Regions from separate parts of the Homo sapiens genome. Here regions 1, 2, 4, 5, 6 and 7 are each linked to region 3. The links are contacts of gene promoters, found by promoter capture Hi-C in blood cells and fetal thymus (Javierre and others, 2016). All regions are on one chromosome and are shown on one strand. The core of a region is centred on a gene start or on the middle of the fragment in contact, and the rest is flanking DNA. Distances in the headings are between cores, read along the strand shown. Region 1 has its middle 44 kb from the start of LINC02896. Region 2 overlaps UACA (uveal autoantigen with coiled-coil domains and ankyrin repeats). Region 3 holds the start of TLE3 (TLE family member 3, transcriptional corepressor). Region 4 has its middle 28 kb from the start of DRAIC. Region 5 has its middle 23 kb from the start of LINC02896. Region 6 has its middle 13 kb from the start of DRAIC. Region 7 has its middle 4.7 kb from the start of DRAIC.

The links. Contacts are between HindIII fragments. The CHiCAGO score rates a contact against its expected background, and 5 or more counts as called.
Region 1: a fragment that was not itself captured here is called in contact with the fragment with the promoter of TLE3 in region 3 in 2 of 17 cell types (erythroblasts and M1 macrophages); the score reaches 7.1 in erythroblasts.
Region 2: a fragment that was not itself captured here is called in contact with the fragment with the promoter of TLE3 in region 3 in 3 of 17 cell types (naive CD4 T cells, non-activated CD4 T cells and total CD8 T cells); the score reaches 7.4 in naive CD4 T cells.
Region 4: a fragment that was not itself captured here is called in contact with the fragment with the promoter of TLE3 in region 3 in 4 of 17 cell types (M2 macrophages, M0 macrophages, neutrophils and 1 more); the score reaches 6.9 in M2 macrophages.
Region 5: a fragment that was not itself captured here is called in contact with the fragment with the promoter of TLE3 in region 3 in 6 of 17 cell types (erythroblasts, non-activated CD4 T cells, M1 macrophages and 3 more); the score reaches 8.3 in erythroblasts.
Region 6: a fragment that was not itself captured here is called in contact with the fragment with the promoter of TLE3 in region 3 in 15 of 17 cell types (M0 macrophages, total B cells, naive CD8 T cells and 12 more); the score reaches 15.3 in M0 macrophages.
Region 7: a contact is called between a fragment that was not itself captured here and the fragment with the promoter of TLE3 in region 3, in 1 of 17 cell types (activated CD4 T cells). The highest score is 5.3, in activated CD4 T cells.

Annotation. Positions count from the first base shown.
Region 1 is chr15:69,505,083-69,508,420 of GRCh38, reverse strand. No RefSeq gene overlaps it. Among named protein-coding and RNA genes, the nearest start is that of LINC02896, 44 kb to the right of the region's middle. The HindIII fragment of the contact is 1,165 bases long and covers 713-1,877 here.
Region 2 is chr15:70,671,971-70,675,382 of GRCh38, reverse strand. It overlaps UACA (uveal autoantigen with coiled-coil domains and ankyrin repeats), which reads left to right. Exons shown (of 19, transcript NM_018003.4): 14 at 3,382-3,412. Among named protein-coding and RNA genes, the nearest start is that of SALRNA2, 38 kb to the right of the region's middle. The HindIII fragment of the contact is 288 bases long and covers 1,602-1,889 here.
Region 3 is chr15:70,096,488-70,099,774 of GRCh38, reverse strand. It overlaps TLE3 (TLE family member 3, transcriptional corepressor), which reads left to right and starts at 1,858. Exons shown (of 20, transcript NM_001105192.3): 1 at 1,858-3,000. The coding sequence starts at 2,977. RefSeq lists enhancers at 1-538, 626-1,600 and silencers at 531-680, 751-830, 2,420-2,589, 2,600-2,719. The HindIII fragment of the contact is 8,963 bases long and covers 1-3,287 here.
Region 4 is chr15:69,532,436-69,535,810 of GRCh38, reverse strand. No RefSeq gene overlaps it. Among named protein-coding and RNA genes, the nearest start is that of DRAIC, 28 kb to the left of the region's middle. The HindIII fragment of the contact is 3,513 bases long and covers 103-3,375 here.
Region 5 is chr15:69,483,762-69,486,792 of GRCh38, reverse strand. No RefSeq gene overlaps it. Among named protein-coding and RNA genes, the nearest start is that of LINC02896, 23 kb to the right of the region's middle. The HindIII fragment of the contact is 2,338 bases long and covers 430-2,767 here.
Region 6 is chr15:69,573,257-69,576,692 of GRCh38, reverse strand. No RefSeq gene overlaps it. Among named protein-coding and RNA genes, the nearest start is that of DRAIC, 13 kb to the right of the region's middle. The HindIII fragment of the contact is 4,104 bases long and covers 1-3,436 here.
Region 7 is chr15:69,555,321-69,558,724 of GRCh38, reverse strand. No RefSeq gene overlaps it. Among named protein-coding and RNA genes, the nearest start is that of DRAIC, 4.7 kb to the left of the region's middle. RefSeq lists enhancers at 1-161, 162-665. The HindIII fragment of the contact is 3,982 bases long and covers 1-3,404 here.

The sequences.
Region 1 (3,338 bases), core at 46-2,545, 590 kb after region 3:
TTGTATTTTCCAGCCTCCCTTGCTTGTCTTTCTCTTTCATAGACACCCACACGTGCACACATAGCTTTGTTCCATCACCCTACTGTGTCCTCTAAGAAACATCTGCAATGAGCCCAAGATATTCTGGATGCTAACAGAAAGCTGATTTAAGAAACAGAAGATTTGGATCTAAATGGCTTGAGGGGAGTGGGGGAGAGGTGGGTGTGAGGACCCTGGGATTAGACTAGGGTTCAAATCTCAGGTCCTCAATCAAGCTGTGGGGACAAGAGCTAGCCTGTCCTGACCTCAATCCTTCACTTTAAAAGGAAGAAAATGGGGTTGCTGTGAAGAGGTAATGGGCTGGAAGAGGCCCTATGATAGAAGTAGTATGTGCAACTTCCAGAATGTATCCTTAACAGGAAAAGGTATAACTTTCTCCTTTCTACCAATTGCAATGCAGAGATGCTAGGGGTGCCGCCTTGGATTATAACATAATCTTGGGAATAGAGACCATGAACACAGAACAAAAAACTAGAGGGAGCTGGAGTTTCTAACACCACAGAGCACCAGTCCTGCACCACATACCTGCCATCTTTCACGTGAGAGAGAAATACATTTCTGTCTATCTTGCTTAAGCCACTGATATTTTGGGGTTTGTTACTCACAGCAAAGCCTGATCATAACTGATACAGGGAAGGATGGGAAAGAAACTGTTTATTAAGTTTCTTAAGCTTGTGTGTACAAAATGATGTCACATTCATGATTTCACTTAAATTCACATTACAACCCCAAGAGGCAGACATGATTATAGATTAAATAGAAATAGATGAGAAAACTAACACTCAGAGGCCGGGTGTGGTGGCTCATGCCTGTAATCCCAGCATTTTGAGAGGGAGAGCGAGGCGGGTGGATCACTTGAGGTCAGGAGCCTGTCCAACATGGTGAAACCCCATCTCTACTAAAAATACAAAAATTAGCCAGGCATGGTGGTGTCCACCTGTAAACCCAGATACTTGGGAGACTGAGGCATGAGAATTGCTTGAACCCAGAAGGTGGAGGTTGCAGTGAGCCAACATTGCACCACTGTACTCCAGGCTGGGAAGACAGAGAAAGACCCTGTCTCAAATTAAAAACAAAGCAAAATGCTCAGAGAGGTTGAGGTTGAGTGATTTATTCATGGTCTTATAGCTAACAAGAAATAGAGTTGGAATTCAAAACTAAAATTGAATAGATCAAAATACAAGCTCATTCTATGAGCCCCCTCTCATGTACTCAAGACCCTGGGCTAAGCCTTTTCTCATCTGCCACAGCCAGGCTGCTCCCTCACCACCCAAACCCCTCCACCCCACTTAGCACTTAACCTGATTGTCAATTGTTCTGCACCTTGTTTCCTCAAGGACCCAGAATGTCAGCTCCTTGAGGCCAGGACCCATTTCAGGAGGCTTAGTTTCCCAGGCTTTAGCCACTAAGCATTTAATAAACACTTGTTGAATGATTGGTAGACTTGAACACTTGTGCTGAAGACCAGAAAAGATGAGAAGAGGCCGGGCGCCGTGTCTCACTCCTGTAATCTCAGCACTTTGGCAGGCCAAGGCAGGCAGATCACCTGAGGTCAAGAGTTTATGACTAGGCTGGCCAACATAGCGAAACTCTGTCTCTACTAAAAATACAAATGTTACCCTGGTGTGGTGACGTGCGCCTAATCAGGAGGCTGAAGTGGGAGGATAGCTTGAGCCCAGGAGGCAGAGGCTGCAGTGAACCGAGCACTACACTCCAGCCTGGGTGGGAGTGAGCCCCCATCTCAAAAAAAAAAAAAAAAAAAAAAATAGAGAAGAAGGCTGGGGGCTGGGGCTGGGGCAAGCCTGTAACATACCTGCCCCAGGCACCCTGACAAAGCTTTCATCTCACTGGCCATGATGCTTTCTCTTTTTAATATATATTTTATTACATCAAGAAACAAAAGAGAAACACACAATTTATGTCGGCCTTTTATCAGCCAACATAAATGAGTACAGATTCCTAACTTCATTTCAGAGGTCTCCATGGCAATCAATATTGCCTGCTGACCAATTAAATCTAACAAGATGCCTTGGAGCCAGAGCGGGTCAGGCGAGGGTGAAAAACCAGGAGTCTAAGGACAGAGTTCTTTCAAAGGTGGTGGAAAGGAGACATACCCTGCCTGGGTCTCCAAGTTTTAAGTATAAATAGGAGGACTGCAATGGTGCTCAGGCTTCTAATGGAGGCTGAAACTGACATGTCTCAGCCAGAGACCAAGATCACCGCGGCAATCAAGGGTATCAGTCTGGCATTCCAGGACGGCTTCTACGTCATATGGGGCTTAGCAACCGGGGGTTGTGCAGGGAAAAGCAAGATCTACGACTAACATTGACCATCTCAAGTTCAGGCTAGGACCAACAGCCTCCACACTCTGCCCATTCAGTTGAACTATGGTGGTTGGGATAGGATTCCTCTGTGACTCAGTTTCCTCATGGTAAAATCACTATCAAACAAAAAAAAACAGGTATAATATTATTCAAAAAGCACATATTTGGTGCCGTGTGCTAGACCACGTAACTAGCCTTGAGAAAATTGCTTCACATCGCCATGCCTGAGTTTCTTTCACTGTGAAATGGGGATGATAACGCCCACTTGCAGGAGTATTTCAAGGGACAAAGGGATTACGGGCATAAACGCAGCTTCTGGCCGGGCTCAGTGGCTCATGCCTGTAATCCCAGCACTTCGGGAGGCCAAGGCGGGCGGATCTCCTGAGGTCAGTAGTTCAAGACCAGCCTGACCAACGTGGTGAAACCCCATCTCTACTAAAAATACAAAAATTAGCTGGGCATGGTGGTGGGTGCCTGTAATCCCAGCTACTTGGGAGGCTGAGGCAGGAGAATCACTTGAATCCGAGAGGCAGAGGTTGCAGTGAGCCGAGATTGTGCCACTACACTCCAGCCTGGGCAACAAGAGTGAAACTCCGTCTCCAAAAAAAAAATAATAACAATATAATAATAATAATAATAATAATAATAATAAAAGCAGTTTCAGTCTCTGGGCTTTTGGACTTGCCAGTTCTCACCATAAGCTCCCATTTTCTGCAGAAAGTTTCAGGGCCCTGTGTCCTTTATCACCAAAAAGACTGAATAATTAAGCACTGTACAAATCCAACAGCTTGTCTCTCCCCGTAGAAAGCAGATCTTCCGTTTAGTTGTAACATTTACCACCACACAAAGCTTCAAGGCTGGGAGGTCAGGCAGAGCATTTCAGGAGCTAGTAGAGGGCCAGGAGCATGCTTCAAGGAGCTTGCCACATCACAGGAGCTCATGTCCTGGGTACTGGGGAGGCCCTCACTCTGCAGC
Region 2 (3,412 bases), core at 496-2,995, 580 kb before region 3:
AATTTTCAAGATTATTCAGAAACACCATTTTATAACCCAAAGAATGATCTAGCTGTAGTGGCTTCTATCTTCTTCACATTTGAAGACTCTTTTTTAGGCTAATTGTGAAACTGGTGATTGCTAATATTTTAATAGCACTGACCATGTACTTTGCATTCTTGTCGTACCTCAAAAAAGAAATCAACTCTATGTGATAAGTTTTATTGTTACCTGACTTCACAGGTAAGGAGGTTGAGGCACAGAGAGGTTTACCCATGAGGGGTTTCACAAATAATAAGTGACAGAGTCAGGACTTGAACCCAAGCATCTGTTGTGCTTTTAACTACAATGCTAGTTTTACACTTAGAATTACTTGAATGAGAAAATTTAGGAGTATATACAGGGCCTTTTAAGTATTAATCAAAGTATAATATAATTTCGGTACTATTTATGTATGTATTTCTTCTAGGAGCTAGACTTTCGCATGTCTTAAGTGTAAGGTATAGGCCAGGCGCAGTGTCTCACGCCTGTAATCCCCGCACTTTTGGGAGGCCAAGGTGGGTGGATCACTTAAGGTCAGGAGTTTGAAACCAGCCTGGCCAACATGGCAAAACTCCGTCTTTACGAAAAATACAAAAATTAGCAGGGCGTGGTGGCACATGCCTGTAATACCAGCTACTCAGGAGGCTGAAGCAGGAGAATTGCTTGAATCTGGGAGGTGGAGGTTGCAATGAGTGAGATCACGCCACTGCACTCCAGCCTGGGTGACAGTGAGACTCTGTTTCAAGGGGAAGAAAAAAAAAGATGTTTTTCTGTAGCTTTAGACAAACAATTTGTCTAAAATGTCAAGTCTATAACTTACAATAGTCATAAAAGTAACTTATTTTTCTTATAAAAATACTTATTTACTTTAGAAAAATAAGAAAGTATATTTAAACTGAAAGCAGATGCAAAAGACACCTATAATCTTAACTCTGCTAGCACCTGACTGAAATCCTTTCAGACATTTGTACATAATTTGTGTGTTATATACTCATTCAACAGGTGGGATCATATAGTACATCCTGTTTTGTAACTGTTCCCATTCAGTATGATGGGGACATTTTCCTCAGTCACTACGTATTCATTGTGATGAAATTTTATGCTAGATATGATTTTTTACTTTCAAACAGAAAATTACAGGTCCCACTTTATATGTGACCCAGTATTTATAACAGCAACCATTAAAAACTACTAAGAATTTGCCTGGGTGTGGTGTCTCAGCCTGTAATCCCAACACTTTGGAAGGCCGAGGCAATTGGATCGCTTGAGCTCAGTTGTTCGAGACCAGCCTGGGCAACATGGTGAAATCCCGTCTCTACCAAAAACATAAAAATTAGCTGGGCGAGGTGGTGCATGCCTATAATCCCAGCTACTTGGGTGGCTGAGGAAGGTGAATCACTTGAACCCAGGAGGTGGAGGCTGCAATGAGCCGAGATCATGCCTCTGCACTCCAGCTTGAGTAACAGAGTGAGACCCTGTCTCAAAACCAACCAACCAACCAACCAACAAACTACTAAGAATTCATCATTTACAAACATTGAATATCTACTGCTGTATTATCTCACATGCTTAAAAAAGCTTAACTGTCAAAGGAATTACTGTTACGAGTTATGTATAATAACTTAACATGTAGCTATTTCCCTTGTATGTATAAAAATATGGGGAAAATGGATATTTTAGAATGAGACTGATTTTATGTTACAACTTTTATATTTGTTTTCATTTGAGTAATAGAGATAATAAGACCAAATTAAGTTTTTTGAACTCCTTATGTGCATAGCACCCCCTAATACATGTATGAGGCCATTTAGTAGTTATTGTAAACTTTAGTATTAAATATTCCATAGAACAAAGAGCTTAACTAAGCTTATAGGTATTTTTTCATACTGTGGGGGCACTAATGATTAATGGAGGTGGCATTAATTTAGTCATGGAATTGTGGACTGTTTTATCATGGTCAACTACTTCAGAGTTTGGTATGTAGCTTTTAGGACTGATACACCTAAATATACAAATATGAACTACATCTGCCTGTCCTTACTCTTCATTTCACTCTGGGGTTTTTTGTTTTGTTTTGTTTTGTTTTTGAGACAGGATCTCACTCTGTCACCCAGGCTGGAGTGCAGTGGTGCAATCACCACTCACTGTAGCCTTGACCTCCCCGGGCTCAGGTGATCCTCCCACCTCAGCCTCCTGAGTACCTTGGGTTACCCTGCCCAGCTAATGTTTTTGTGTGTGTTTGTTGTTATTTATTTATTTATTTTTGAGACGAAGTTTCACTCTTGTTGCCCAGGCTGGAGTGCAATGGCACGATCTCGGCTCACTGCAACCTCCGCCTCCCAGGTTCAAGCAGTTCTCCTGGCTCAGCCTCCCTACTAGCTGGGATTACAGGTGCCCGCCACCACACCCAGCTAATTTTTTGTATTTTTAGTAGAGACGGGGTTTCACTATGTTGGCCAAGCTGGTCTTGAACTCCTGACCTCAGGCAATCCACCTGCCTCAGCCTCCCGAAGTGCTGGGATTACAGGCATGAGCCACCGCACCCAGCTCGTTCTTGTATTTTTTTGTAAGGACGAGGTCTCACCACGTTGCCTAGGCTGGTCTTGAACTCCTGGGCTCAAGTGATCTGCCTGTCTCAGCCTTCCAAAGTGCTGGGATTACAGGTGTGAGCCACTGTGCCTGGCCTATTCTTACCCTTGAAGTGTAGTATTTTAATTTATATATTAGATTCTTTGTATTTGGCTTACTTGGGAAAAGGAACAACCCAGTATATTTTGATTCACTGTAGCTAGAGTTCTCTATTATTTCCTAACTAATGGATTGATGGATTTATTACTATGTGTAGGTCTCTGCCTCAGTTTCATTTCCTGCTCTCTCTCTCTTTTTACTTTCAAAGTACTTGGTATTTTATAAACTCTGGAAGAAGTGGTTATGTTGATATTTCATAGTCAATGAGGTAGGGTTTCTGCTTCCTACAGTGGTAAAGTAAAATGAGTTATTGACATGAATGTGGCCACTTCCTTCCTTTTGAGGTAAAGCAGTAGCAAACAGTAGTCTTTGAAAGTTGTTTCAGTTCATTTAGGGCTCACTTTTTTTTTTCTTTTGAGCAATAAAGTTTTTTCTTAAAACACTTGGCTGCTTTTATTAAAATGCTTAGTGAAGTACTTTATTCCCAGCTGATCTCTCTAAGTGTTGCTAGTGTTGTTTCTTTTTGTGGGTTTGAGTAGAATAATGCTCTGGAGAAACAAGAATGTCAAAAATGTAGTTTTAATGACTGCATGATTTAGAGCTAAAATAGATACAGAATTTAACAAAATGAGGCAGCATTCACCCTAAAATATTTTATGCTTCTGATTTCAGAGTGATCATTTAGGATCAGGAAGTCATTTCA
Region 3 (3,287 bases), core at 609-3,108:
TCTGGCCGCGGACTGACAGGGCCCAGCAGCTCCGCCAATCAGCAACGAAGAGCCCCTTCGGCGGTCCGTGATTGGTGACTCGCACCTTGCTCGGAGGCGTGGTCGGCGTCCCCCACGTGGGGCTGGAGCGAGAAATGGGCGGGGCGAGTAAGAAGCGGGTGCGCCCACCCGTGACGTAAGGGGGAGGGCAGAGAAGGGGGAGGGGGAAAGGAAGCGCCAAAGAGGAGCCATTTTGTTTCTAATGAATGCTGCGGCCAGATGCTCGCATCTGTCGAGCCGGGCTTCTCCCTCCCCCGTCTTCGGTGCGCGCCGAAACACGATTTATGTTTTTATTTAGGAGAATAAATAAATGAAGAGGGGAGCGCGGTTCGGGGCTGGCGGCCGGAGCGGGCGCGGGGAGGTTCAGTTCTGAGGCGGGTGCTCACGTGTAACTCCCCGCGCTCCGGCCTCCGAGCGCCCGCTAGCTCTCAGCTCCTCATTAAGATGCAAAAGCGAACCTCCGGCTCCTAATGAGGGGAAAATATAGATCCGGGGACGCGCGGCCGGCTCGCGCGCGGGCTCGCGGACTTGCCGGGGAGGGCCCCGGGGGTCCCGCCTTGGCCGTCCACCGGGCGGTGCGCGCTTTGAGGTCCACTCCCTGCTTGCTCGTCTGCCCCGCCGTAACCCCGAGCGCGGGAGGGCGAGGCCATCGGTTTGCGGGCAAGCTGGCCCCGGAGTCGAGTGGCCTGTGCGACCAAGCGGGGGGTCCGGGGGGCCCGGGGCCGGGGCGAGCGAGCGGGGGAGCGTCCGCGTCCCTCGGAGTGTCCAGGCTAGCGACCGAGACACCTACAGGCTTCCGCCAACGCCGTGGCACTGCCGGGAGCAGGCTGAGCAAACCAGGTGGGAACTCGGAGTTCCCGGGCCTCGGCCGAGCAGGGTCCCGACCCCATCCCCAACCCCCTCAGCCTGGGGATGCAGTGAGGAGCCCGCGCGGCGAGGCTGCGTCGAGGGTGAAGTTGTGCCCACGGGGAAGGCGCCCCGAATGGGGCCAGCCGTGGCTGAGCCTGTTGTCCACGGGCAGCCGGGCCCTTCCATCTGCGCTGCCCGCCTAGCCAGAGTCCCTCAGACTTCTCCTCGCAGGCAGCCGCCGCACATCAAAGGAGCTGTTTATTTGGCTTTCTGAAAAGAAGGGCGAGTGAACAAAGGAGAGCTGGGGGCTAATGTGGGGGAGGCGGGCAGAAGAAGGGGTGAAGAAAAGGGGACATCCTGAGTTCCGAGCAAATTTTTAAAGGTCGGAGGCAACTTTAGGAGCCACCGTTTTATCAGTCCTAAATCTTTTGAAGTGAAAACATTAAAGTGACAAAGTGATTGTTTGTTTTATAGTATCTAATTGGGCTGCTTTGCAGACCTAATGAGATTAGAGGGAGGAATCGTTCGCCGCCGCTGCAGAATAAACTGATACATTACTACCAGCCACAGGTTTTGAAGATTGTACAGCTTGTCTTATTTTCTTTTGTTGTTATTCCTCTGTCTTCCCTCTTTCCTCCTCCCGCTAAATAATTATTTGCTAGTAGACCGTGGGAAAAAAAAGGAGGAAAAAAACTCGAGCAGCCCAGGACTATAATATATATCTATTTATTATATGTCTTTCGGTTAATTCCTGATCTGAGGAGCGCTGTTTTTCACTCCCATGCGAAAGTCACCAGCGGGTAGGGCCTGATTGCTACTTTTCATGCATAGTTTTAGACACAAGAGGGCATTGTGACGTCGCGCCCAGCGGCACCCAGTCGTAGGCCGAGTCCCGCAGCCCCACGTGGGGGCCCCGCGCTCCCATTGGCCAGCGCCGGACGAAGCTGCCACATTATTTTGTTACTTTTCAGTCCCTATTTGGAACTGCTCTCGCGGCAGTTCAGACCTCGTGCTCGTCCCCTTCGCCTGTCTGTGTGTGGTATCCGTAGGTCCGGGGCACTTTTTTTTTTGGTGTGTGTGTGTGTGCGTGCGCGCGTGTGTGTGTGTTGGGTGTGTGTGTTTTGGGGGTTTGCCGGGGCGCGGAGAGGAGAGCCGGGCCGAGGGGAAGGAAGGAAGCCGTAGAGCTCCCCGGTCTCGGGCTGCGTCTCCCCTCCAGCGCTCTCCTGCCTGTGCGCTCCGACGCGGCAGCGGCGGTGGCGCTGAGCGCTCCTCGGTGGGGACGCGGTGCTCAAGCTGGGAGCAGCGAGAACCCTTTGCGGAGGCTTCCCGTGCCCGCTGGACTTAGGATGCCAGGGCGTTTGATTTGCACCTACTGAGCCCGGAGTTCCTCCCCGGCCCTGGGAAGGGCTTGCAGCGGCGGCGGCGGCGGCGGCAGCGGCAGTAGCAGACGGAACAGCAGGCTCTCCTCTCCGAGGGGGGGCGTCGAAGCGCCCGCGCCGGGCTCCCGCCCTCACCCTCCGGCGCTCCTGCGGCCCCAAGCCACCACCTCGTAGCCCGCCTCCTTCCTCTTCTCGCCGCGAGCCCCAGGCCCGGACGCCTCTAGGATCGGACCCGCGCGCCCCGGATGCTTGGGGCTGCCCCGGCGCGCCCCCCTACAGGCGCGACCCGCTGAGTGACCCGGAGGGGGCCCGAGCTCGCCCCAGGAGGGGCCCCCGGCCTCGGGACCCCGCGCCGGACCTGCTGGGGAGCCGACGATGTCCGCGCAGTCCCAGGCATTGACGCGCTCGACGCAGCCCAGGGAAGGCGGCCGGCCGCTGCCCGCCGAGCCCTAGGCGCACAAAGCCCGCGCCCGCCGCCCGGCCCCGGCGCCCGCCGACGACTTTGCCGCCTGCTCCGCGGCTCTTTGTCTCCACTTGGGGCGGGCGCCCGACTCTGGGATTTCGCTGCGAGAACGAGCTGGGGGGGCCGGGGGCGAGCTCTCGGTTTCCCGGCCGCCCCCCGCTCGGGCTCGGCTCCCCCCTCCCCCGCACCTCCCCGGCCCGGGCTCTCGGCGCTTCCACGCTCTCGGAATCACGACCCCTCCCTGCCATGTATCCGCAGGGCAGACATCCGGTGAGTAATTGCAACTCGGTTTATTTAAGCATCTATCATGGCAGGGTAAACGAGGCAGTTTATCTGGCACCTCCATTTTGCTTGTTGCTACCTTTATGGTGTGTGTGTTTGTGTGTGTGCTCTCACACAAAGGGGGATGCGGCCGGGGGGCGCCGTTGAGAGAGGAGGTTAATTCCGCGCGAGTGGCGCGGGGGGCTGCTTGTGTTCCAGGGGGAGCTGTTCACGCGGTCCCCGGCCCCGCTCTGAAGTCTCCCAACTCACCCGGCTTGTCTCCCGCCCCCGCCTTA
Region 4 (3,375 bases), core at 610-3,109, 560 kb after region 3:
TGAAAAACTAGTTCTAAAGTTTGTCTGAAGAGTAAGTTCATAAGGATAAACAAGATAAGCTTGAAACATGCTCTGCTAAATATGAAAATGTGTCATAAAGCTTCATCAATTAGTATTAAAGTAGAATAGGTAACTGGTTGATGGAATAAAGAGTTCAGATATATATTCCTGTGTATTTATGAGAACTGGGGACATGATAAACATGGCATTTTATATCAGCAGGGAAAGATGGGCTGCTTAAAAAAAGGAAAGTCAATAACCTGCCATCTATATGGGAAAAAGCAAAAGTTAGATCCCTTCTGGTATCAGCCAAGATAGGCTACACTATGCTGTGGTAAAACATCCCCCCAGTCTCAGTGACTCACCGCAGTGAAAGCTGATTTCTGGCTCAGGATACATGTTCATTGAGATTGGTCATTGAAATCACACAGGAGCCAGGCTGACGGAGAAGCCACCATCTCAAACACTGCCAGAGAAGGTCTAGACACAGACCAGAAAGTCCTGAATCCACATTCAACTGCCTGTTCTTGAAAAGCCCCATCACTTGTGCTCACAACTCTGGCTAGAACTAGTCTCACGGCCCCACCCAACCGCAAGGAGCACAAGATGTGAATCCTACCACATGCTACAAAGTGAAGAAAACCAGAAATATCTGGTGAAGAGGACACTAACCACACACTACTTTCACCATCTCATCCCCCTCCCCACAAAAAAAAAAAAAGTATTTTCAATGATTTTTTTTAAGCTGAAGAAAAGTATGAGGAAAGATTTTTTTATATATAATCTTGGAGAGGAATATGCCTTCTATTCAAGGCATTAAACCCAGAAGCCATAAAAGAAAAGAATTACAGATTTAATTGCATAAAAGTGTAAAGTTTTTGCATGGCAAAATAATCTATAAATGAAGATAAAGTGACAGAACAGAGAAAATAGTTGTACCATCACATATAGCTGATGAAAAGTTAATATCTGTAATATACAAAGAGTACCTGGAAATTAATAAGAAGATTCAACATGCAGAAAAATGGGTACGTGGTAGATAGCCTTGGGTAGAGGATTTGGGGAAATAAATATCCTCAAAACTGTTGTTAGAAATATAAACCAGTTTTTCCTTTTTTTTTGTTTTTAGAGTAATCAACGTGCTAAATGCACATAAATTTAATGCACCAATTCTTCTAAATTCTACAAATACTATAAAATATATATATACATAATGCTATCATATAAAATGTTATTTGTGGCAATATTTTCAATTATTATATATGTACCATGTTGATCATTACAGAACTGTTGGTACAAAATTCTTTTAAATGCAGAAAAATACATATATTGCTTTAAAAAATCAGATATATCCACGTCATGAAATGCTGTGTTGTCATTAGAAAACATGAGGCAGTGTTGTAAATATGGTCATAGAAAGACGTTCATGATGGCCAGGTGCGGTGGCTCATGCCTGTAATCCCAGCACTTTGGGAGGCCGAGGCAGGCAGATTACTTGAGGTCAGGAGTTCAAGACAAGCCTGACCAACATGGTGAAACCCCATCTCTACTAAAAAAAAAAAAAAAAAAAAAAAAAAAAATTAGCCAGGCATGGTGGTGGGCGCCTGTAATCCCAGCTGCTCTGGAGACTGAGGCAGGAGAATCACTTGAACCTGGGAGGCGGAGCTTGCAGTGAGCCGAGATCACACCATTGTACTCCAGCCTGGGTGACACGGCGAGACTCCGTCTCAAAAAAAAAAAAACAAAAAACAAAAGAAGAAAGGAGAGATGTTCATGATACATTGGTTGGGTGAGGTTTCTAATAGAGTTATAACTCTCGTTTCTAACAGAGTTATAATGAATCCTAAGAGCCAAGTAAGACCAGGATATACCAGCCTTATTAGTAATCAGAGGGCTCAGTGGAGTGCCCAACCTCATTCCCTGAACCCAGACCTGACTTCACAAATTAGAAATCAATTTCAGTGTTTAAAAAAGTCCTATTATTACAATATGAATTCTTCTGGAATATTTAAGTATGGAAGGAAAAGGGCTCTAGAGTCACTTAACCTTGGTATGAAATGACATAATTAACTGGCCTAGGGCCACCCACCAAATGTGTTACAGAGCAGGGATTGAAACTCGGATCTGACAATAGAACAAGTACTTTCCACTTCAAGCCTTTCCTCGGTCCTCCAGCTTATATCCCTACGTTAACTCAGATCACCAGGAAGTTGCGTTCTGGGGATCAAGCCTTTGGTGTCCTTCCTCTAAACAGAAATGTTTCCCCCAATCTCCGACCTTAACACTATGGTTTGCCCTTCACCAATATAACCTCTGCTCTTTCTCTAAAAACTGGGGCCAATGATGTGTACCTTACGCTATTCATCATGCCTCTTAGGGAAACGGCACCTTAAAGACCTCTCCTGGGAGCAGTCCCACTGCACAGGCAGGCTCTTCCCTACAGTCAGGGAGAACACAACGAGCCTGCTCCCTGATCCATGCCCCCACCCCACCTCCCCGCCCACCACCACCAATTGCCTCCTCTGTTAGGACACTCAGAACCATATTTTGCCTTCAGCAACCAAAATGTCCCTCAGTCGGTCACTGGATGCAATTTTCTACTCCAAGCTACCTCTCCGGATTTTCATCTTTCTTCTGCATTTTGAGGTTCCATCCCACTGTGCCTTTTGTCTCATTGTACTTCCATGTGGCCCAGGCAGCCTAGGCAGGACGCCTCACTCCACAAGACCAGGGAAAGTTAAATTCTTTATGCCTCAGTTTTCCAGTCTGTACAATGGGAGAGGCAGTCACACTATCTCCCTCATAGGTTTTCCCTGTTGATTAAATGAGATAATGCATATACCGCACCTAACACAAAAAGCATTCCATAGAAGCTACAATCACCATTTTATTCCAAAATGGCTGAATATGGGCAGTTTCATGTGGTTCAGTGTAATAAGTTTTTTGACAGAAGTGGATAGGCTACAAATAAATATGACACACTTTCTCAACCCATCAGGCACAGGTGACATTTGGACAGTTTCCTATTTGGAAGGAAAGGTAACTCTGGAGTCCTGGCAGGTCTGGCCATAGCCTGAGAAGCTATTAGGCAGGAGAAGCCAGGGGACAGCTAAGAACCTGGCCACAGGACAGATGAGTCTCGGGAGGGAGATGAGAAAGTGGCAAAGAAAAATTAGGCTCAGATATTGTCAAACACACCCCAAACCCTACACCTTCCTCTGTTCAAGGTGTCCCCCAAAGCCTGCCCAAATCCCACTCATTCTTCAAAAGGCAGCTGCCCTGGCCCCAGTCAGCCTTCCCCCACCCAACTGATGTGTTCCCTCCCCACACCCCCACAGCATGCCTTTGGAAGGAGCCCGGGGCTCAGGCCTAAGC
Region 5 (3,031 bases), core at 349-2,848, 610 kb after region 3:
GTAGTACTCAAAAGGCATTTATTCATGTGTTTAATCAATAATTATCCAGCACTCACCATGTACCAGGTACTATTCTGGGGGCCAGGGGTGTAGCAGTGAACCAATGACCCCTCACCCTCATAGAGCATGCTCTCCAGTCAGACAGCAAACAGAATATGACATCAGTAGCTGTGCATGCTGTAAAAATGAAGACACCAAGGAACAGGGCTAAACTAGAGGAATGGAGGAGCAGGAACTCATGTAGTGAGGTCAGCAGAAGTGAATTTACCCCGAGGTAATAAAGCTAAGCTTTAGGGCCCCTTGCTCACTTGGGTCCCTTCTTGTTCCCACAATAAATGCTTCCTGACCAAATTTTGTATTCACAATTGTGTATTCTTTTTCCTAAAAACCACTCTCAAAAATCACATAAACATCAGGCTCCACAAAGCTTGGCTCTGCTCCCAGAGGTCATGAAAGGCCTCTCTGAAAAGGTGACATTTGAGCATGGACCTGAATAATTAGAAAGGAACCATTAAAATGAGCAAAGTAAGATTCTTGGCCCTGAGACAGGGAGCCAAGAGATTCTGAAAAGGTCCCAAGTTATCTGCTTTGTAGAGTTAAAAGGCTACATTTAAACTTATATCTCAGGTCAGATCTCAAATAAAGGTGACCTGAAAGTTTCTGCATCTCCCCAGAGTCCCCACCCGTGCTAAGGCCTCAGCCAGGCCTGAGAAGCAGGCATGGGAGACAGCAGGAGAGCTTAAGAGTATAAGAAGCACTGGTAGGCCTGGGGTCACAGGGAATGGCTGCAGATAGAGACAAGAGGAGGAAGAAATCAGGACAGACAGTACCAAGTGCTGATGAGGACGTGGAGCAACTGGAATGCTCATATACTGCTAGTGGAAATGCAAAGTGGTATAGCCACTCTGGAAAACAGTTCAGCAATTTCTTATAAAATTTTCATTTTATTCAACCTATGGCTCAGTCATTGCTCTCCCTGGTTTTACCCTAGAGAAATGAAAACTTATGTTCACACAAAAATCTGTACATGGCAGTTTCTAGGAGCTTTATTCATAATAGCCAAAACTGGAAAAAAGCCAAAAATAGCTCAGGTGTCCAACAACAGGTGAATGGATGAACAAATTCTGGTCTATCCATACAATGGATTACTCCTCAGCATGACAAAGGCACAAACAACTGATCTACCCAACAACATAGTTGAGTCTCACAGACATCACGCCGAGTGCAAGAGCCAGACACGAAATAATCTGTCTGTATAGCTCCATCATCCAACACTCCAGCTACCCCAACCGAAAGCAGGTGGAAGGCAGGTACAAAGGGACATGAGAGAACTTCAATCAAAGAGAAGATTGAAATGTTCTATCCTTTGATTGTGGCATATTATGCCCTGGTTACAGATGCATACACTGAGGCCTATGGTCACATAGCCAGCTACATGGTGACCTACCCTGCCTGGGCAAAGCGGGCAAGCCCAGATCCTCTGATCTGGAAGCCCAATTCTTTCCCTTCCCTCTTCTCCATACATCCTCCTCCATGCAGAGGGGACATGAGCTGGGAGACCCTTCACTGAACCCCAGTGGCCCAGAGCCTAGCACTGGGCTGGCAGAGCCGAAGAGAGAGTTAGAGGGAGCTCTGAGAACTCGTGAGCTTGTAATTGTGGGGCTGTGGCTAGGCGCCACTGTAAGGAAGCGCTCCTTCCTGGGCAGGGCACACCCAGTGGTGTGAGGGAGTGGACTGGGAGGTAGCCCTGGCTTTACCCAGAAAGATCCTGTTTCCCCTGGCACTTTTTCCAGCATGGTCTGCCAAGAGAGATTAAGATCACAAAGAGCAACACGATGCTGCTGGAGAAGGAGATTAGTGGATTCTGGGGTGCTTGTCTCCCTGAGAAAGGCGGTTTGTTTGAGATCTGACTCCAATCCCAGGATGAAGCTATGCCAGGTCCCACTGGAGCTGACATGAAGAGAGAGAAGGCCCCTGAGGCAGGGAGCCTCTGGCCAAACCTAACAGGATGGAGCTTCCAGAATCCTGAGGGAACCATGGAGGAGGCTCTGGGGTCCCATGGGAGCCGTAGCTCCAGCACCTCCTGCTGATGGTGAACTCTGCTACAGTGTTGACTGAGAACACAGGTGGCCTTGGTCCTGCAGAGCTGGTCCAGAATGGAAAGAACCTGGCTGGTTTGCTCCAGAGTGCGATGGCCTGGACCCACAGGTGTTGGGGGAAGTTCGTCACTCAAAAGGGAGGGGAAGGACTAGCCAGTTGACATGGAGGCTGGCAGAACTTTTTCAAAGTAAAATGTAAAACGTGAAAGGTTTTTGATGTTATCGCTGTTTGGAGCACATTGAGACACCTCCTGGTGACCCAAGAATCTTCTGTCGCTTTTCTACTACCTGCAGTGGCTTTAGAATGGGAAGATTAAGGAGAAAGTTCCAGGCCCTACGATTGGGCCAACTGCAGGGAAGAGATAAAGAAACAGCTGAAACTCACAGTGAAAGGAAAATCAGACGCCACTGAGGCAGCAGTCTGAAGCCAACGTGGATGGGGACAGTTTGCAGGAATTTGCATCTTACAGGGCCTTGGGTTCCCTCAGGCATGAAATGAGGACTTCAGTCACGCCCTTTCAGATTTTCAGGGGCTGGGGCCACTGGCTGCCATCTGAGATACATGTTCACAGGGGATGGGAGCAGATGGAAAAGCTAACACGGTGCATCTTCTACTCTCAAAGAGCATCCAGTGTAGTTCAGCAGGTGAGCCAGGCTCCCAGCAAGCTTAGGAGAGTAGAAAGGGGCACAGCGGAAGGAACAGAGAGAATGATGGAAGGAGATGGAGGGAGAGGGAGAGAAAAAAGAATGGGAAGAGGGACCAAATAACACTCTTGCTATCAGAATCAAAAGCAGATGGAGGGCGGGTAAAACAGGACACAGAGAACTTTCTGGGGAGATTGAAATCTTCTGTCTTTTGATTGTGATATATTATACCTTTCCCTTTGCACTGCGCACAGGGCAAGAGACACATTGCACGTGTTCTGGAATTT
Region 6 (3,436 bases), core at 543-3,042, 520 kb after region 3:
TCAAATCCTGAAAACATCTGCTGTTAGTCCCACCCTCTCCAACCTCCATCCTTTCCCTTTCCCCAAAAAAACAAGAGCTGCATTTTCAGAATTGAAAGTAGGGTGCTAAATGGGCAAAAGTATAGTGGTGGGATCTGAGGCATGGAAGAGGAAAAGCCACAGGGGATGGCCTGAAAACACTGCTGTGTGCTGAGTCAGGCTGCCTGTGCCTGTTCTGCTGTATCCTGGCTCCTGGCTTTCCTCCCCACCCCTGGGCCTGACAGATGACAACTGAAGGTGGGGCCAGCCCAAGAGAGAAAGGGCCAGAGGAAGTTGTGGTGGGTGCCCCGACCCTGGTCCCTAGATATTGTCTGAAGCCTACTGAAGGGTGAGTCTGCATCTTCCAAACACTTGCCCACAACCACAGTGACAGAAGAGGAGCGAGATCTCTCTCTGCTGTAGGTCCAAATGCTACCCTCCTACAATACCAGCAATACTGATGCCACCAACCCCCATGATGGCACCAGGATGGGGAAGGCAGAAACAGGCCTCTGGTGCCCTCTGCTGTTCAGCACTCCCGTGCCACAGCCTGAGGGTTGGCACTGTGGCTGGCAGGGGGACCCAGGGAATGTCTCCAGCCCCTAGGGTTGCCCCAGCTTTTAGCAGCCCTCCATCTACTTCCCAGAAGGATCCAGGAAATGTGTGATGCTGAAGCCCTGGCTAAGGCAATGCACCCGCCAGATCACCCAGGGTGTGGTGTAGTAGCAAACAATCCCCAACACGAAATGGCTCCAAATCAGGCAGGTTTATTTAGCTGGACAAGCTCTGTGTCCATTTTCTAAGATCCAGGTTGAGGCAGTAGCCACCACCATCTGGAATGATGCTGGCTACAGTGACTGAGAGCAAGAGACTGAGGGCCTCACACAGACAGTGAAAAACTTCCACTCACAGCTCACTGGTGGGATCTATCACACAGCCCCACCCAAGCAAAAGAGGCAGAAAGTGCAATCCCACCAGGTGCCCAGAAGTCAGGAGCTAGGGACACTGAAAGGGCACATTCCTGACTACTGATGGCTTCCGGCTCATTCTCCCTCCTGCAAGCAAAGTACCTCATCCCTCCCCAGGGAACGCAGCCCTAGATCCGCCCCAGGGGCAGCATCGTCCTCAGGTGCAGGGTCTCAGGGCGGTATGTTGGCATCCCATATCAGCAGTGAGGGGCAGTAATCCCTGCTTCACACGTAGATGTGGTGCCTCTTGATCCAGTGACCTGCAACCTAAGAATCCCAGTTTCCTGCTGCCTGTTAAAATTCAGTCCTCAGTGGTACAGCCAGGGCTAGAGAGTGGCAAAAAAACACACCAGTAGGAAAGCAGAAAAATGAGAGCCATATCTCAGGGGATACTGCTCCATGGCAGCCCTGCCATCCCTGGGCAGACTTTAAGAGTCCCTGTCCTGGAGGTGGGCATCGTCCTTGATCAGGCAGCTCTGGCCTCTCCCCTGGGTATCTCTCCTCATTGGTTTTTTCTGTGCCCTGCTCCCTTCCCCGTCTGTCTGGCTGCCTCAGTTTCTCCTGACTTAATACCTTGTGCTGTGTGTGGCTCTGTAATGGCCACCTCACTCTTGAGTCTCCCAGACTTCTGAGTGGTCCCAACTTAGGGTCTCAGTTCAAATTCCAGACACACAGAGAGACTCCCATTTCACTGGCCTAACTGATTATTCAGAGCCAGGCACACAAGTCACAGTTATGTCCAGTTTCCGAACGGGCCGTCTGAACAGGGGATGCTGGAGAGACCCCACGCTGCCTGCACATCTGGTGGTGTGGGAGGAGAGCGTGGGCACAGCCATGAAGGATTGTTTTCTCTGAAACACAGAGCGTGGAGTTGCCCTTGAATGTACTCTGAAGACACATGATTTGGGAGGAGGAAGTGAGGTTTGGCCTTCCCCAACCTCAGACTGCTCATTGCTTTCTTTACTCCTCTGAGTCTCAGTTTCCTCATCCATACAGGGGGAACAATAATCACTGTCCTCATCCTTCTCCCTCGCTCACTCCTGTGGGCCCTCATGCCCCTGATGGAACCAGTCCTGGGTCCTGGCTGCCTGAGCTGGGTTCACAGTCTGGGGCTGACCTGTGGCCTGCCTCTCCAGAACATTTGCGTCTGTATAGAGAACTGTTGGAGACTGACAAGCCAACAGGATCAACCCGTAATGGCAAAATATAAGGCAGGGAGATGCCAAAAGAGAGAATACTTTGGTAGGAGGGAGGGAAGCACTCAAGATCTGCCTGGATAAGAATTCTAATCTCTGCTGCTGACTGTTCAGTTCCTCCTTCATGGAAGAAATGAGTCAGGCCTATCTTGAATGACAACTCTTGTTACCAGAATCCTCAGATCATTTCTAGGGTAACTCTCCTTTAAGGGATGTGTGTGGGGGCAGCACTTCGTAGGTACATGCACCCTGCCTCCCTGCCCCACGTGCTCTACATTCTCCCTGTGCTCAGAACTGTGCTGACTCGGGCACAGTTCTGATGATGCGGAAACTAGTGCAGCCCACATTTCTCAACCTCGGGGACGGATGTGCTGCCTTGTTGTATTTTTGTTCTTTGAAAACCTCTGCTTTTTCTTCTACCCATCCACCTCTTTAGCTGCTAATCGGGGGTGGTCTGAAGACCCACGTCGTGTGTTTATTTTATCATGTTTCCAAAGCTGCAGTCATATCTCAGCAGGGGGCTGCACCATCCACATGCCTTTGAACTCAGAAACCCCCACGTGGGTTTTGGTAACCAGGGCTGGCATATCCCCACTCGACAGCACTGTGTCCTTAGCCCACTGCCCACCTGGCTCCCCCTACCTCGCTGCCCCTGCCCTAATACCCTCCTGCAGGGTTCCTCCAGGGTCTCATCGTGGTCCAGTCTCTGGGCGCTAGCACAGTCCCCTCATTCCCTACCCACCCTCACTGCTCAATGCAAACCCTGCCTCCTGCCCTCTGTGACTTAGAGCTGTCTGCTTAAACTCTCTGGACTACGGCCTCACTGTAACAAGAAAGGATTTGAGAAAGCAGAATTTCCCAGCTCTGGATCCTTTCTTTCCCCCATCTCCTTTAAAGCATATCAAGAAAGAATGGCAGTGAATGTTGGTAGAGTGCTTTACAGTCTACAGAATATGAGCACATTCATGACTTTGTGTGAAGTCACTGATAGCCCCTGGGGGTAGTTATTCTTACTATTTCTGTTTTACAGAGGCAGAGGCACAAACTGAGACTCAGAGGGGTTCAGTAACTTATCTAAGGTCACACAGCTAGTTTAAAGAAGAAAAAAAGAAATGGCCAGGCATGGTGGCTCACACCTGTAATCCCAGCACTTTGGGACGCCGAGGCAGGCAGATCACCTGAGGTCAGGAGTTCAAGACCAGCCTGGCCAACATGGTGAAACCCTGTCCCTGCTAAAAATACAAAAATTAGCTG
Region 7 (3,404 bases), core at 417-2,916, 540 kb after region 3:
TGGTATCGATGATCCCCCTATAAGGAGAAGTCTTAGCTAAGGTTGGGTGCATTTGGTGAGTGTTGAGCCACGGCCAACCTGCTTCCGGGCCTAGGGCACTCCCATCCCTGCCCCAACATGGTCCCACAGAGCTCAGGCACAGGCCACAAGGTTCCCAGCCTCCATCAGACCCCAGCTTTCCCCCTCTCCTGCTCTGCTCCTGGCTCCATGAGACAGTAGCATGCAGACTATGAACCAAGAAAAAGTTAAAAGCAAAAAGGAGAAAACTTGTTAAAACCACTGCTGTTTTTAAGGGTCAAGGAAGGATTCCTTGACCTGCCCTGGAGGCAAGAAAACAGGTCACATAAACACCACACCCCTTTCTCCAATCAGCCTAGGGTTACAGACTTACTTCTGTTAGGCAAAGACCTCCTTTCAAGAAGAGAATATGCTGGGCCACTCTGCAGATCTGGAGGAGTTTGGAGTAAGAGTGGGTGCCCCAGACATTGGACCAAGCATTCCACAGGTAGAAGGCTTGGAAGCTGGAAGCCCAGTGAACATGCACCTGGTTAGAGGGATCAGGAAGCCTCAGCTCTGGAGTGGATTAAGATGCAGGTAGAAACAGCTCAGAGTGGGTCTCTAATCCCATCTAATCCACTCTGGGCTCAAGGATCCCAGAAATCCCTTACCAAGCACTTTCTTTGTCTCACCCGCAGTGACCACCTCCCTCCCTTTCCCTTGGAAAGCCCAAGTTATCAGGCAGTGAAAGAACTGGCCCCTGACTCTGCTGCTATAACATCTCCCATGCCACACTGCTGCTTCTGAACATGCAGGCCCTTGAAACAGGAAAAGCAGTACCCACTTTCTCACTCCACAGCTCCACTCACAATTACCAACTGTTTACAGGAAAGACAATGAGAGTGCGTCCCCTGAGAGAAGGGGTTAATTATTACAAGTCAGGAAAACAGAGAGTTACAGTATGCTGACCCCCTCTACCTGAATACACAGTAACTAGTGCTGTTTTTGAAAACACCCAGGTTAGAGCCAGGTTTACATTTGACAAGCATCAGCTAATTACAACAATAATATGAACTACACAACAGCATCAGCATGGCTGATGAATCATTGAAAAGGCTGAGTGACTCTTAGAATGCCCAATTAATGATTCACCCTGTAAAAATGCATCTCCACGCTGGTGCCCAGATCTGGCTCATTATGTTAAAAGCTCTTACGCCACTGGGCCTTACATACAGACTCTAAATATCTTCAGAACTTTGAACTTTGAAATAAGTAAACACGAATATGCACTAACTAGGACTGGCTTCATGGGCACGCAACCTATGAGGCTAGTTATTCAGGGCCTGAGCTCCAAAGGGCACCACCCCCAACTTGGTTGAATGCTCTCTTGAAATTCTGAATAATTCTAGAACAGGGAGCCCCAGCATTTCCATTTTGCACAGGGACCTGAAAATGATGTTTCCAGGCTTGGGCTAAACTCTTAAAGAAGAAAGCAAGAGAAAGTGAGACACAGGAATCCACACATCAAGCCACTTTTGCCCCCATCTGAAGCAAAATGCCCCATTCTTTTAAAATTCTGAACAAGAGAAAGGTGTGGAATTTTTTTTTTTTTTTTTTTTCTGGAGGAAGTGTTTCGCTACATTAGAAATACCTTATGAGTAGGTCTGGCCCTGTCCTCTAAGCTAACCCCTCTCCTCCCTGACCACCCTCTGCAGAAAAACTCCTCTCTGACCTGCCGTGTCTGCAACCTGAGGTTGAGGTTGAGGGATAATTTCAGCTCTTTTCTGAGATAACAGAGAAGTCAGAGTCCTTGCTGTTTCCTTCTTCATAAAATGAAAGAGCATTGCGGGGGCAGCGGAAGGCAGAAGGGACTAAGTCAACCTTTCCCAGCCCTTTCTGAGATGTTCAAAAATGTTCACCCAGAGAGGGTCTCTATAGCAAAAAAAAAAAAAAAAAAAGAAAGAAAAAGAAAAAGAAAAAAAACCAAGTTTTGAAAACTCTGGGTCAAATAAAGTTAACTTTCTGAACTGGAGGACTTTCTCAGAACATTTAAAGAGTTAACAGGAATTGTGTGACTCTCCAAGCCTGGGGTGACAGCACTTTCCAAGCTCATTCTACTATAATTGATGTAACAACCCATCCACCCTGGGGAGTATTTACCATCAGGCTGAGGAATCTTGGACTTCAGAACCTCTCTGAATGCAGTGCAATGACCTGCACTGGTCATTGCAGAGCTCTGGAAGTACCCATACTGAGTGTTCACCTGGTCATATGCTTGGCTAAAATTTGCAGAAGTAAGATATTGCTGTATCCATTTTCTTTTCTTTCCTTTTCTTTTTTGAGAGGGAGTCTCACTCTGTCGCTCAGACTGGAGTGCAGTGGCACAATTTCAGCTCACTGCTACCTCCACCTCCCGGGTTCAAGTGCTGCATCCATTTTCTTAAAGAAAGGTCCTAAAATTGTGTGAGCTTTGGGACCCCCAAAACGCACATCCTCCTCTGCATCCATTTTCACATCTGGAGGCACCACCCTTACATCATAACTAACATCTTAACATGCACCCACATCTCGCATTTCATCTAATTTATAAATAACTGTAGGAGTTGAGTTGGAGCTGGTATAATGTCATTTGCTTAGTAGACTCATAATTAAACATTTTTTCATATTGGTTTTGCTCAGTTGCAAGGAATGTTAATTTTGGAGGCAACACTTTTTAAATTTCCATGTCACGATCATTTTCTTAGGTCCTGGGAAAGCATGTGGGCCCTGAGGACTAGGCCTACAGTGCAGGATGGATAAAATAGGGCTGCACTCAGCCAGCCTCTACAGTTCGAGAAATGCCATACTTATAGAGCAATACTGATTATTTTCATGGTCGTTTCCAATTCAGTGGAAATGTCGATTTAATATCTAATTCAGACTAAAGAGAGATTGGAGTGGTTGGGGGAGTCGAGTTTGGATTGCAGAAATTGAGCTTTTATTATTTTCGAGAAACAGCAGGTTTCCTTGAACTAGGTTAACAAGGTGTTATCTAACAAGACCTTAGGGGGCTGATTTAACGGTTAGGACAAGATTGTTGTGTAATTAGCTTATCAACTCTGTATATGTAAATGAAGGCTTTTAAAGTCTTAGGAAAACTGGCTCTTGCTCTTAAGTAATTTAACTGTTTCCCCTTGATGCTCTTCATTCTCTCCAGCTTGGACACTTCTTTCCTTAATTAAGCATTTATGGAAGTCCATCTTGTGCGCAGCACTGTGCCTAGGGATTGAAATATGAGTAAGACCCAGTCCCTGCTCTCCACCAGCCCATGGTCTAATCAGAGGTCCGCGAACCTTTTCTGTAAAGGACCAGATGGTAAATACTTCAGTTTTGCAGACCATCTCTGTTGCAATAATAACCCGACTCGG